Regions from separate parts of the Homo sapiens genome. Here region 2 is linked to region 1. Evidence: promoter capture Hi-C in 16 types of primary human blood cells and fetal thymus (Javierre and others, 2016). All regions are on one chromosome and are shown on one strand. Each heading gives the region's core, a stretch centred on a gene start or on the middle of the fragment in contact. The rest is flanking DNA. Distances are from core to core; before and after follow the strand shown.

Region 1 (7,212 bases), core at 3,187-5,686:
AATTAGCCAGGCGTGGTGGCGGGCAGCTGTGATCGCAGCTACTCGGGAGGCTGAGACAGGAGAATCACTTGAACCTGGGAGGCGGAGGTTGCAGTGAGCCAAGATTGTGCCACTGTACTCTAGCCTGGGTGACAGAGCCTGACTCTGTCTCAAAAAAAAAGTGCTATTTATATTGATTTATAATGTTTACAGATCTAAGTAATTGATCTTGTGATTTACATATGGTTCTAGAACACTGATCATTATCATCAGATTGCTCAACCGGCTAGGACATTCCTTATTCCATAATACTAATAGCTTCTAAAATAACATTTGATATACTCAGAACTATCTTCTAGAGAGAACATCCAGTGCTGAATAGGAATTCCATTTAAAAGCATGGCTCTTAAAACGAGCATTTACAGTTAATGTTAATGCCATCCAGAAGAAGACGGAGCAAGACACTGACCATCTGTTTTGGAGAATCACAGCATGTCAGCAAAAGGGTCTCACAGATCATCCCATGAAGTGGACAGGGCAGGAGGAGACTATAAACAAGCCCGTAGGTGAATTCTAATACACACACACACACACACACACACACGCACACCTCGAAAATTACTTATTTATCCCATTTTGTCATTTCACAGATGAGAAAATTGAGATCCAAGCAAGTAAAGCAACCTGTCAAGTCATGCATATAGGAAATGCAGAGATTGGATGAGAACAGCAGTGTTCTGACTCCCAATCTGGTCTTTTTCTACTCCACCAAGCCACATGAGAGGGCACCTTTTGCACGTTAGTGCAGAACAACTCAGCTTCGATTTGTCCCTAAGGTTAAGTGTCCAAACATGTCTCTGTTGTTTCACAAGCTCTCAGTCTAACAAAAGGACCTGAATGGCTTTGGTTATTGGTGGTAGATTTTTTGTTATTCTTGCTGTTGTGTGTTTTGCTTTTGGAAAGTGGAGAGAAATTTAACTAAGACCTAAGTAAAAGTATCATTATTACTTGACAAACTAACGGTCATACAGGTTTTAAAGTTTAGAGTGAAAGAAAAATAGCAGTTGGATCAATCAGGCACCACACACACACATGCACACACGCACGCACACACGCACGCACACACACATGCGCGCGCACACACGCGTGCATGCACACACACACGCACACCCATGGTGATATATAGTGTTCTGTTTCTCTGTGTGAAGGTGAGTGGCTCACTGTTACAATGTTTGAGGAGAGAGAACCCCAAGTGTGCTCAGCCCTGGGCAGGAGGAGAATGTGTCACTTTAAGTCCTTTCCTCTTTAGCTGAGTCATGGTACAACCACGATGGTCTCCAAAAAAAGTGTCTCCAGCCCTCCACAACCAGGGAAAAGGTCACCAATAACACAGAGCTCAAGCAGTTGGGGAAGTGGGTGAAAGGGAGAATAAAATGTCCACAATATAACTGAACTCTCTTTGCACGTTCATCTAAGTTGAAAACTTTTATCCCGAGACAAACTTTCCCCTGCATTGAGCTGTGTTGAATACAGCTGCATTCAGTGAAGCTAAATCTGCCATTTCTGCCATTCGTGAAGATGAATATCAATACATTAAACTCTACACTCTTTTATTTTATAAGAATTTAGAATTTAGAATATCTTCACTCAGTGTGTGCCCAACTCTAAAGCTGTGAGGAATAATATCTGCTCTGATAGATCCTTGGTATAGTATTAAGCAAGAATAATGACACAAATTATAGGAGACTCATTCTGTTCTCTGTATTAACAAAATACAGTACTCTTCAGTGTTAATATATGACCCTTAAAAAATATATAACTGACACTGATTGACTCCTACTACTTGCCAAACATTATGTTAAGTGTTTTATGCCGATAGTTGTATTTAATTCTCACAACTCCATTATGTTGACGCAATTTTACATTTGGGGACACTGAGATTTAGAGCAGTTAAGTACCTGCCCCGAGGCCCATAAACAGTAGGCAACGAAGCTGAAATTCAAACCAAAAGTAGTACAACAACAGAGACTGTGCTCTACTCACTCTAATTTGACTCACATCCCAGCACACAGATCTACAGGACACACATCCTAACATAATTTAAAATGTGTATAAGAAATTGTAATTTAGTTATGTGTACAGTTTTGGCAGAAATTAACGAATAAAATACTGTGTGTCTCAAATTCTGGATCACTTCAAACTGGAATTCCCCCAATGATATCACAAAAGAGCCTCTGATGACCCCCAAATAATCACACACTGGAAGTTTCCACAAATGCCAACTCACTCTTTGGCGGTGAGTGAGTAAAGATAGATTGAGTGGTAGTGACTTCGATGAAACTAGTCGATGGCTTTTATTCTTCGGGTAGCTAAAATTCATTTCCCCCAGTATCCAAGAAATATTTTCACAGCAATGACTTAACAACTTAAATGGAAATATTGAATACACTTTTTTCTTTAAAAGAAAACTGCATATCCTCAGCTTCTTAATCTCAAGCCATAGTCATGCTAGCAGTGGGGCTGTTTTCTGAGCCACTGGCCTACCCACCTTGTGCTTTCCTTGTCTTTAATTTAATTGCCTTCCTTGTCTTTAACAAATGACTCTGCTGTCATTTGTTTCCTATTGTGTTGCATCTGATGCTTTTACTCAGTAAACAAAACTAGAATGTGTTCTGTGATGTTGTTTTAGTTGAGCACAAAATTCAATACATTATCAAGAGAAATGAAACTGAAAGGAGCAAGTCAAGATCGCAGACCTGCGTTTTCTTCTGGGGCCACAGTTGCTGATAAATGATGCAATAATGCCCTCGACAATCTATTCCAGCTACCTCTTGATCTGAAGATCTATGGAAATGGAGTAGTTAGGGGAGGTGGTAGGGTAGCAGTAAAACACTTTCAATTGTTATTAGAATAATTTTGCATCCGCAAGCTGGCAAACGCTATTCACGTCTCTTTACATTGCTCGTTTTATGATGCTCCTAAAGAAAATCCTTGAAAAAAGGAGAAGAAAAAAGAGGTCTGACTAATGGAACAAAAGCTACATCACAGTCTAGTTCTGTCATGTTTTCTCATCCTTAGTAAGATGATGGTTCAATTTTGAATAAAGATTAATTACTTGAATGTGGTTAAAGCATAGTCTAGCCAAATTAATTTTTAAAATGAGAGTCCAGCTATTTTTATCTTATTCTTCACATCCCAGGTGATTTCAATCAGTAAATTTCATAGCAGTGAATATTTTTAAAAAGTATGCTTGGCCATTGGCTTTTACCCATTCGGCATCTCTCTGAATTAAAGTATTAATATTGGGAAACATAACGAGTCTCTCGGAGTGACCTTGCTGACCTATTTTTGACAACATGATTTCGGCTCCCTCATGGCTTGCGATGATAGGTGCTGGTAACATTATCCTTTATGACTAATCTAATTGAAGCAAGTTAGACTTTTAAAAACTAGTTGTGTATGTTAGCTTGACTAGCTTGCTACGCCCTATTTGGTGCTTGGAAAACCAGGCACTGGGTGAATGCTTTTCAATTGCGTCTGTAACTTAGTTTTTCCCTCCTACTGACATAAATGATCCATCTTAATCCTCCCATTCTAGCTGCATATTGTTTTCCAAAACTAAAGCTATATGCCCCAAAACCTTTGCCTTCTATCATGTGGCAGATGACATCTTCCACTGACAGTGAATAATAAATTTACACTCAACCCGCATGGGGAACCTGAACACATAAGCTCCCCACATGCAGAACTATTTCCAAGTGACATTCCCTTCTCTCTTTCCCTTCTACTTCAGTGATGCAGAATAACCATCATATAACAATTAACAATCCTCCTTTAGGGGGATGCTGAATGGAAAGAAAAGAACAGGAGAAGGGCACCTCAATCCAGGTAACGTATTAACAAAAACCCCAGAGCAAACCACAGTCCTTAACAGACACCCTGATAAGGCTCCCAGGACACAGTACTGAGGAAGAGCAAATTCTCCAGTGGGACACATCTCACACGCCAGTGGCTCCTGGTTCTCCCAGCCACATGATCTGTGCCAAAATTCAGATTTAACGCAGTGTCCTCTTTAGTCCCAATGTAATTCTATTTCTAGTTTTGCCAGCCTTAGTTCTGCAAAGCATCAGTATTCTCTTACCAAAAAAAAGTATTAGCTGAAATTCTGGGCCATCTATCACTTATACCCTTTGGTTAAGGACTACTCCCAGTAAGGTATTTTCTGTTGAAGATGCCCACAGCAGTATCCACCCAGGAACCTTGAAAAGGAAGCAGAAATGATTGCATGGGTAACTTACCAGCTCCTGAGGTCTGAATGGCTGCAGCAGCCCCACTCCTTTACCTGATCCCTGCTCTCTCTGTCTCTCTCCCTCTCTCTCTCCCTCTTTCTCTTGTGTACAGATTGCAGGGAACTTAAAGAACTCGCAGGGACAGTGTTTCGAATGACTTAAGAAAGAGAACAGGAACAATACTTCGTTCTCTTTTTCTCAGATGAGTACCTTCGGGAAGAAGGAAGGAAGGGAGGGGAGAGGGAGGAAGTCAACAACCCTTTGCTTTCCTGAAAAAAAATAAGGAAACAGAAGATAGACATCTCATTTTCTCTTAAACAAAATGTTGGAAGGGGCAAAAAAAAAAAATCTTTGAAAAAAGGAATTCCTCAAATATGTTCTCTGCCCTGGGAGCTTTAAAGAGATGAAACGCCTTAGTGGCCTGTCCTGTCCAAACAAACGGTGTTCCAGACAGGCAGGCTCTCCTGAGCCTGCAGCCTCTGGTATCTGGTTTGCAGAACTGACACAGCCGAAAGGGAACAAATCATGTCATGTCGACTTAGAGCAAGGGAGAGCTTGGCCTGTTGTGCTAACCAAGGTAAACCTGCAGCCTGTAAGACAGTGTCGGGGCTGGGCAGCCAGGACTCCTGGCTTTTCTTAGGCCCTTTGAAACACCAGCATTGCTGCAATTCCTCGCTGACTCTAGATCCTTAGAGTTTTTCCAGGATCAAATAGCAGATTTATGCCCACCGAACTTTATACAGTGGACCCAATCCAGCTTCCATCACTGATGGATGAAAAAGGAAAAGAAGCAACTAACCACAACTGCTGCCGGCCATGGTTATCTCAGATCTGTTGTTTATATTATTCTATCCTCTACATTCCTAAGGCGTCTTGGATTTAATCACCTCTGGAAAACTGGAAGGAGATTTCTAATTTGTTTTCAAAATACTGTGAAGCAGCATAGGGTTTAGATAAATCAGCCATGGTGTTCGAAAAAAGATAGGGGAGGCAGGAGCAGTTAAAATGGAGGGAGTAACCTTTATCAAGGTAGAAGACTTGGGGCTTCAGCAGGCAGGCATGAGCTTGCTTAGGCTAGTTGCACTTAGGAATAAGCTTGGTTTTAACTTCTCTGATTTGTGTTATGTCTCTTGTGTCCCTTATTCATCTGGTTAGGACCATTTTCACTGTGAACAGGAACCAGCAGTTATGTAGACCTTTGTGGCAGCAAAAGAAAAACCAGCCTTACACTACTTCCTCATTTCACCCAACTGTGAAAAAAATGGGGTGGACAGATACACCTGATTGCAAAGAGTCATGAAAGTGAGTTCAGGGGAAGAATGATTCTGATTCAGTGACCCTGTAAGATTTTGATTGAGTCCTTATTGGCCTATAGGATTATGTTTTTATTCTGACAGATATTTTTCTATCATCTATCTGTCTATCTATCATCTATCTATCTATCTATCTATCTATCATCTATCTATCTAATCTATCCATATATCTATCTATCTCCCTGTCTATCTAGTTATCTGAATATGTGTGCATGTATCAGAGAGAGACATGAAGATTTTGTTACTCGGTAGGTGTGCACAAGCCAGAGCAGAGTCCCATTCCTTGCATCCGCCACAGCACCAACACTGGCACAACCCATGGCACTGAGTTCTGGCCTGGGTGACCCAGCCTCACCAACAGTGGGGAACACGGATGACCAGAGACAGTCTCTTTGGTTCGCTTAGAGCCACACGCCAACACGTTCCTGTCTCCTGATCCCGGCTCTCGGGCTCTTTGCCCTCTGCTGGCCTTCCTCTACATCCTGCCTTTGTAGAAATGGGAAGGGAAATGAAAATGAAAATCTGAGAAAGCCAGGGAAGGGCATGAGGGAATGGAGCAGGAAGGCCTAGGAATGGAGTCTTTTAAAGGGGGAGAAACACTGGGGCAAACCTTTGAGTAACCGGAGGTGAAACAAGCAGGCAGCTGAAATTCACAATAAAAAAGCAGACGTCCTTGGGAGTGAGGTGGGGTGAGGAGAAGCAATAGGGAGGGGGCAAGGTGTGCGGGGCATCAGCAGCAGAGGAAAGGAGGGACCCAAGGAACAAGACGCTCATGGTACCAACTCCTCACAGGCAGGAAACCGCCTCTGATCACTTGAAGAATCCATTGCAGCTGCACACAGGCCTTCCCATATTTTTACTCCTCTTTGCACCCTCAAGGCAAGGCCAGGGCTGAGCCCCAGGAGTCCAGGCAGAATCCAAAGGATTTCCCTTTTAAGTCTGCAGAATGTGGGGACTGTCACGTTGAGGCTGTGTTGTTGTCTCCAGGCCAGCTGACCCGCCCAGACAGCCTGGATGGGGACATGTGCCATTTCAGGCTGCACGGCTTTGACTGAATGGGGCAGCATCCAGTCGGGATCTGACATCATCCCCGCAGCCAGCCAGGGGACTCTCAAGGCTGCCTTGTGCCAAGCTGCTCCATGCTCACACCGCGTTGCAACCCTGCCTGTGAAATTCACAGAAAAGGCTTTTCCCTCTTTCCTTGTGCTGCCAGTCACCTGAACAGTCACCCTCTAAAACTTGTGAAACCACCCACTGGGTGTCAGGAGCAGAAATTCCTAACCCTCCCATTAGGTTTGGCAGGACAGATTTCTGATCAGTCCACTGGAGCTCTAACTCTGTCCTGGCCTATCTGGATCCTGACTAAAAGTGAAGGATCCAACTGAGACGCATGAGCAGGAATGGCATATGGCCTTGGCTCTCACCCCTCAGGAAAGCCCCATGTTGCACAGCGTATCATAGAGATCACTTGAGTAGAGAGAGGAGCTGCCCACCCCTGGGACGAGATAGGAGGACAGGAGAGAAACCTAGGTGAGGACAGTGCTGTGACCCTAACCCTCAGAACCAGCACCACAGAAATAGGTGCTCTACTCAAAATGGCGTCCTGCCTCTGAAGCGTCCTAATTTGTATG
Region 2 (7,212 bases), core at 4,713-7,212, 200 kb before region 1:
CCAAAAATGTAGGCATCATCCTTGACCCCATTCTTTTCACACTCTATAACCAATTTGTCAATAAATCCTACAGGCTCTAGATTTGAAAAATAACTATATATTTCTCATCACCACTACTGCTAAGCCACCAGTATCTCTCATCTCCTGACCTTGTTTTAACTACTGTCCCCACCCTTATTATCTAATCTCCACCCAGCAGTCTGAGTGAGCATTTTAAAAGATAAATCAGCCAATCAGGATAAAAACCAATAAATGCTAATCTGTGTTGTTTTTCTGTCTCTTACACTAAAAATAAAATCCATATAATTACTAATATACACACTCTCAGTCCCTAGAACAGTTCCATAAAAGGCACCTAGTAAATACCTAAAGAAATGAATCAAAGGAAGAAAAGGAAGAAAGAAAAAAGCAATTGGGTTTCCAAGGTTTGTTTACTCCCTGGTGGAAGAAATTGGTATCAAGTAATAAGGACACACCAGAAATGATCAAGTAATAAGTATTTGTTGAAAACCTATTGTTGTGCATTTAACCATTTTTTCCTCTCTTTTTTCCCTGAGGGATTGATCTCAATGACTCAGTACCTACTGGGGGAAAACAACTTTAGAACTTTAGAACTTGATACGATATGAAAGCAATTAGCTTTTCTTATGACTATCTTAAAGGGATTGAAGCCAAGTGATTAAAGCAAAATAAAAACAAAAAAGTCCTTAAACCCCCTTCACACTAAGGCAACTTAATAGCATTAAATCTACTTGCTTACAGATGTTAAATGTCTCTCTCATAATAGCAAATCTTTTGATCATTTCATAATGAAGGCTTCTGTGTTTAGATGAGAGGCAATATGAGAAATTACCTCCCTCTACCTGAAATTTACAATTTAACTTAAAATAGCAAGATCAGGATCTATGGCCTAATTAAAATGAAAAACCCATCATTTCTTTGTGGGTTTCACATCATGCACAATGTATAACCAAACTCTGGAATAAGGTGGCTTCACTGATCACCTCTGTAGTGTGGTAACTCAAGATTGCATGTGAATCCTTCGCACCAAGGCATCTTTAGTCAAGTGAAATTGGCTGGAGCCTCAGAAAAGGTAACAGCTGCAAAGCCAGCATCTAATGAATAACATTTGCATTTTCCAAGTCAGAGAAAGGTTTGCTGCTAAATATATCATGTGGCCAATCACCTCACAGTATAGCACTGCCGTGATGAATGAGGCAGAAAACTGCACAGAGCAGGGACGGCCAGGAAAGCTGGGACAGCTGCGGCGTGCAGAGGGCCAGCGCCACAGGCTTCTGGACTGTGGGCTTCCACAGTCAAAATCCCACCTCATGTTTCAGTGAGGGGCCAGCAGATGCCCAGGTTTTGTTCAAAGAGATGTGCCAAAGAAGATACTTTTTTGCTTGCTATTCAGCTCCTCAGGAATACATACTGTGGCAGATGGTTGTGGACAACAGACTATATGGGAAAATGGATCTGAAATTTGAATTCTTCATTTAACAAAACTTGAAGCTAGACAGACAATGTGGAAGTATGTCCAGAAAATAAAATGTATACTAAAAATGCCCTTCCCATTTGAAGAAAGCAATACTATTAACGATCTCAGAATATACAAGATTGTATTGAGAACCCTGCACTATTCCCAGTAAGAGTGCAATGGCCCACAAGCCTGGGTGAGGATTCAGATTGCCTGAGGGGCTTTAAAACTTCAGATTCCTAGGATTCTTTTCACCCAGAGGGAGACTCTAATTCCCTGGGTTTGAGGTAGCACGAGAGACTTAAACAATAGCCCCAGAAGATTGTAGCCAATCAAGCACGTCAGTTATGTTTGGGAGCAACCATGGGAGGGAACACAAAAGAAGTCTTAGATGTTGCTCCTAAGCTCAAAGAAGATACTGAATAGGAATTCCATTGCTGGAATAAAATGAATTAAATATCTTTAAAAAATTCCTCCTACTATAAAAATAAAACAAAATATCAATTTTCCCCCAAATATATGACTGAGCTTTCAAGAAGGTAGATGTAACTGTCAGAGGCCAAAGGCAAGATGGAAACATGAACTTGGAGTGTTTAGAGGAGCAGTCCCTTTGAGGGGAGCAGTCCTTTTGAGAGCATGTGATGATCTACAGTGATGGAGAGCTTTAGTTTCAGTGACTTATGGGGACAGAGGATAAAACCAATACTTGTAAGATGAGAAGCTTGTTCAGAGATCCTCAGGTAAAGCCAGGACCACCTAAGGGAACTACACCTGAAGTGAAAAGGTAAAACTTATCACTACAATAATGCACCCTAAAAAGTAAACAACCGGGACACTTGTCCCCTGAAGATTATAAACTACAAGTCAGCCCTCATGCCTCTTTGGGGATTTAATCCACTCTTCTTTTGTGATCCAAAATATACCAAGCTGAGAATTTTGTTTGAAGAGTTGACTTCACTATATAAAATTCTAAAAATTGTGAACTATTCTATAGAAACAAAAAAGCATATCCATGGTTGCCTGGGAATTTGGGGTATAGGGCCAGAAGCGGAAGGAGAAAAGGGTTAAAGAATAGGAGAAAACTTTGGCAGGTGACACATATGCTCATTATCTTGATCATGGAGATGACTTTATGGACATATACACCTGTACATTGGTCAAAACTGATCAAATTGTACATTTAAATATACATAGTTTATTTTATGTGAAGAATACCTCATCAAAGCTGTAAAAAGTAAACAATGAATAAGTTAAAAAGCAGGTTAGACACAGGTGAAGTGAGAGTGAACTGAAAGGCAGATAATTACACAGAATGCTGCAAAGATAAAAATGAGAACTGTAAAAGAGCAAAGATATAGAAATATGAATAAGAATGTATGATGAGACAATGATGAGAATTTTTTAGAATTGATAAAAAATATAGGTTTCTAGATTCAGGATATGTATACAATCTCAAGTCAAAAAAGTAAAATTATTATTTCAAAAACGATGAATGAGAGGATCTCAAAAGTGGCCAGAAAGAAAAGAGAAATTACAAAGAAAGAAACAACTATACTAACAGGTGTTTTCTCAATAGGAATGATAAAATCCAGAAAATAGAATAAAATGTTCAAAATGTTGCAAGTATAAACTATCAACCTAAAATTGCATATCTAGCAAGATTATCTTTAAAAAATAAGGGCAAAATATGGGTATGCTGGCATGTGCTTGTAGACCCAGCTACTCAGGAGGCTGAGGTGGGAGGATCACTTAAGCCCAGGAGTTGGAGGCCAGTGTGGGCAACACAGCAAGACCTCATCTCAAAAAAAAAAAAAAAAAAAAAAAGATAAGGGCGAAATGAAGACATTTTTGGACAAACAAAAACAGAAAATGTATTAGCAACAAATACTAAAGGAAATTTTTAGAACTCAATAAAATTGGTTAAATTGGGGGGGAACTGACTGTTTAAAATAATGTTATATGTGTTTTAAAGGATAAAACTTTATTATTAGACAAGAGCATATGGTTAGATGTGTGTGTGTGGACCTAAGGTGTCCTAAAGGATAGTAGAGTGTGATGAGCATTACAATTTAAGCTAGATATGCATTTTAGAAGTTAAAGGGCAACAATCTCTAAAAAAGTAGAGGATATAATCTCCAGACCAGTGGAGGGGAAAAAAACGTAAAAAACAAAAACAATCCAAAAGTAAAAATCAATCCAAAAATAAAAAATAAAGAAAAAAAAGAAAGATGAAACCAATCACAAAATGTGACAGAAATAAATCCAATTATATTGGTAATCATGAAATGATAATGTAAATAGACGAAATTTTCTAGTTAAAAGATAATGATTGTCAGATTGGTTAAAAATATAAAAGCTAGCTATATAAATCATATAAACACAGAAGAGTTGAAAATTATTAAAAACACACTAGGAAGCCAAAATAAAGCTGGTACAGTTGTATTAATATCAGACACAATAGATTACAGGCAAAAAGCAGTTTTATAGATTATGTGGGTCACTACATAATGACCAAAAATTCATTTTGCCAAGATAATTTTAACCTGGTGCACACCAAAGTAACACAGCTTCACAGTACATAACCACAAAATCTGTAGTACAGATGTGTTGAAAAACAAGCCTCTTAAAAAAGAGTGTGGTCTCTGGGGCAAAGTTGTGATAATGAAGGTCACTGAAGAAAAATATGAATCCTTTATTGAATCCTTCTAGCTTCAGGTGAGAAATGGTTTCAGTTTTTCTTTTCTACATAACTGCACATTACTGTTAACCTTTCAGGCAACACTAAACTCTTTCTGGGCTTATGGTCATCTGCATACCTTACCTAATTTATATAATAAAGAAACAGGTACAGATTATTATTGTCCTTCCTAGAAGAACTGATCTTGAAAAATACAGGCTGAAACTGTTTTTGTTTCCCACATTTTAAAAGAAAAACGAGGACACATGACATATATCATGCATTGAATATACAGAAGGAAGTATGGAAAACTAGCCTAGCAACCAATTTGGACATAGATTTTTAGACTTCCTTCTATTTGTCTGTCACCAGAAGCTTTAACATAAATAAATCCAATAAAGGAAAAACATGAAATCAAGCTTTGTGTACATATATATTAATGAGACTAAAGAACGGTGATGTGCACAAGTCAGACCCATCTCTAGAACTTGGCAAATATGGAAACTGGAAAATGAATAGATGCCACAGAGATGCAAATACAGAACTGACAAAAGTTAAGAAAGCAGACTTCAGAAAATCTCCATCAGGCCTCAAGAGCAGGATCTGAAATATTCATGCAAAAAGCCAAAGGCCTCTACAGCTGAAATGACACAGCAAAACTAAATCTCAGCTAAAATGGAAGAAGTGTCTGTAAGAGACAGACCTGAATGCAAATGTGTCAAGGAAATACTCTTTGGATTCAAAAAGGAGGTTCTCCAAAAACAAACCAACAGAAAACAAACCAACAAACCAAGAGAAACCAACACAAACAAGCAAAACAGTAACCCAAACCAAAATGTGTCCTATACTTTGTGATGTGAAAAATCACAAATAAAATATTTAATCCAGTAGGGCTCATGAATCCTGAATTCAGCTCAAGTCACCTGAGTGCTCGCTCCTTGTCAGAAAGACTCAAGAAAACTTCCTCTCATGGAACTCAAGGAGCTTCCCCATGAGGCCTGCCCTCCTACCAACACCCTACCCAGTTCCCCAGTGGTTTTCTCCTGAGTCCTGTTCACAGTGGATCCTATTCTGTTAACTAGTAAATGTTGATAACTTTTACCCTGTACCTCCCCAACAAATCAGCAAGTTAGTGGAGGAATTCCAGAGACAATGCTTTAACTCAGTGTTTATTTTAGCCAAAGGGAAGCCCAGTACAGAAACAATCAAAAGTTGAAATCTGATTGAAGTAGGAAAGCCCAGGGCTCTACAGAGCACAGTTGAACTATGGCCCTATCAATAAAAGTATCAACAGCAATGGATTAAAATGTCTCAATTATTTAAATCTATGAGTTCTTAATGACATTTTAAGAAGTCCTCATTCATCATTTTTGCAAGTTATTTTGAAAGCTAACTCATATACAAACTATTTCAGGGTAAGTAAACTGTTGATGAATGGAAGTTCTGTCATAAAAATTTCCTAGATAATAAATGAAAAGAAATGATAAAATTTAAACAGCAATAGTATGCAGCTTCAAATGAAATAACAAATCTAAGTAAAGATCATGAATGGCCTTTAACTTCGCAGAGGGGCAATCAAATGCTGTGTGCTTACTGACACAAGTAAACACTTACTATGAAGTATTTATACCAAAAGACAAAATAAAAAGTCCTGAATCTGATCAAGCCCCTTTCTCCAACTACCAGTTTCACAAGACATATGGAAGGCAGAGGAGCACGCTAAACACCACAATAAGGATGAAATCAGCAAATCTAGAATGTGGGAAACTCCAAAAAAGACCTGTTTTGTTCAATAAATAAATTGCAAAAAACTTACAAACTAAGATAGTTGAGACAACTCAACACATTGCAAGGTATGGACCTTATCTAGATCACATTTCAACAAACTAAATTAAAAAGAAATTTATAAGACATTTGGGAAAATGTGAACATTAATGGAATATTTAATATTACAGAAGTACTAGTTTTTTAGAATAGTATGATTAATTACGTTTTTAAAAATCCTTATCTTTTAGAGGTACATATCAAAGTACATATAAAAAAACCCCGATAATTAAGTTTGTTAAAAAGTAATCTGGTGAACAGGTGGGGAGTTGATGAAACAACACTGGTAGGGAATTGATAATTGCTGGAGCTGGGTGACAGTACACAGGGGTTTATTCTACTCTCTCTACTTCTGTATGTTTCTATTAAAAAGATTCAGAAAGAGTTAACGGGGGCACATAGCAACCAATTGTATTATACGAGGCTTTATTTGAATCCTGATTCAACCAAATCATAAAAAAAAAAATTTGAGAGTATCAGGGATACCTGAGCCAGGAGCGGTGGCTCACGCCTGTAATCCCAGCACTTGGGGAGGCCGAGGTGGGCGGATCACGAGGTCACGAGTTCGAGACCAGCATGACCAAAAAGGCAAGACCCCATCTCTGCTAAAAATACAAAAATTAGCCGGGCATGGTGGCGGGCGCCTGTAATCCCAGCTTCTCGGGAGGCTGAGGCAGGAGAATCGCTTGAACCTGGGAGGAGGAGGTTTAAGCGAGCTGAGATCGTGCCATTGCACTCCAACCTGGGCGACAAGAGCAAGGCTCTAAGAAAATAAAATAAAATAAGAAAGAGAGTATCAGGGATATCTGAACACTAACTGGATATTTCGTGATATTTACAACCCTATTAATATTTTAGGTGTGATAATGGTATTGAAAAGCACCCTTGTCTTTTGGAGATCTGTATCAAAATATTTACGGATGAAATGACTTACTGCCTGGGATCTCCTTCAAAATTATCCAAAGCATCGGGATGGGGAAACAGTAATAAAGATAAAATAAAGACTAAGAGCTGATAATTGTTGAAGCCAGGTGATGGGTAAAGGGGGCTCCTTATACCAAGGTGTCTACACCTTCAAATGTTAAAACACTAAAAAAAAAAAATCTGTGGCGTTAGAAGTCAGGATACCGGTTACCTTTGGAGAGACTAAGTGGGGGCCGCAATAAGGGCTTCTGGAGCGGTAGGAATGCTCTTGCTTCCTACACAGGTTTACTCGCTTTGTGGTAATTCATCA

What was found. The method cuts DNA at HindIII sites, captures the fragments that hold promoters and counts their contacts. A CHiCAGO score of 5 or more calls a contact.
Region 2: a fragment that was not itself captured here is called in contact with the fragment with the promoter of ZNF366 in region 1 in 1 of 17 cell types (monocytes); the score reaches 5.7 in monocytes.

Annotation. Positions count from the first base shown.
Region 1 is chr5:72,502,974-72,510,185 of GRCh38, forward strand. ZNF366 (zinc finger protein 366) reads right to left here and starts at 4,437. Exons shown (of 5, transcript NM_152625.3): 1 at 4,278-4,437. The HindIII fragment of the contact is 5,585 bases long and covers 1-5,361 here.
Region 2 is chr5:72,300,605-72,307,816 of GRCh38, forward strand. The region is part of intron 2 of MRPS27 (mitochondrial ribosomal protein S27); the gene reads right to left. Among named protein-coding and RNA genes, the nearest start is that of MRPS27, 16 kb to the right of the region's middle. RefSeq lists enhancers at 728-1,683, 1,243-1,472. The HindIII fragment of the contact is 2,782 bases long and covers 4,572-7,212 here.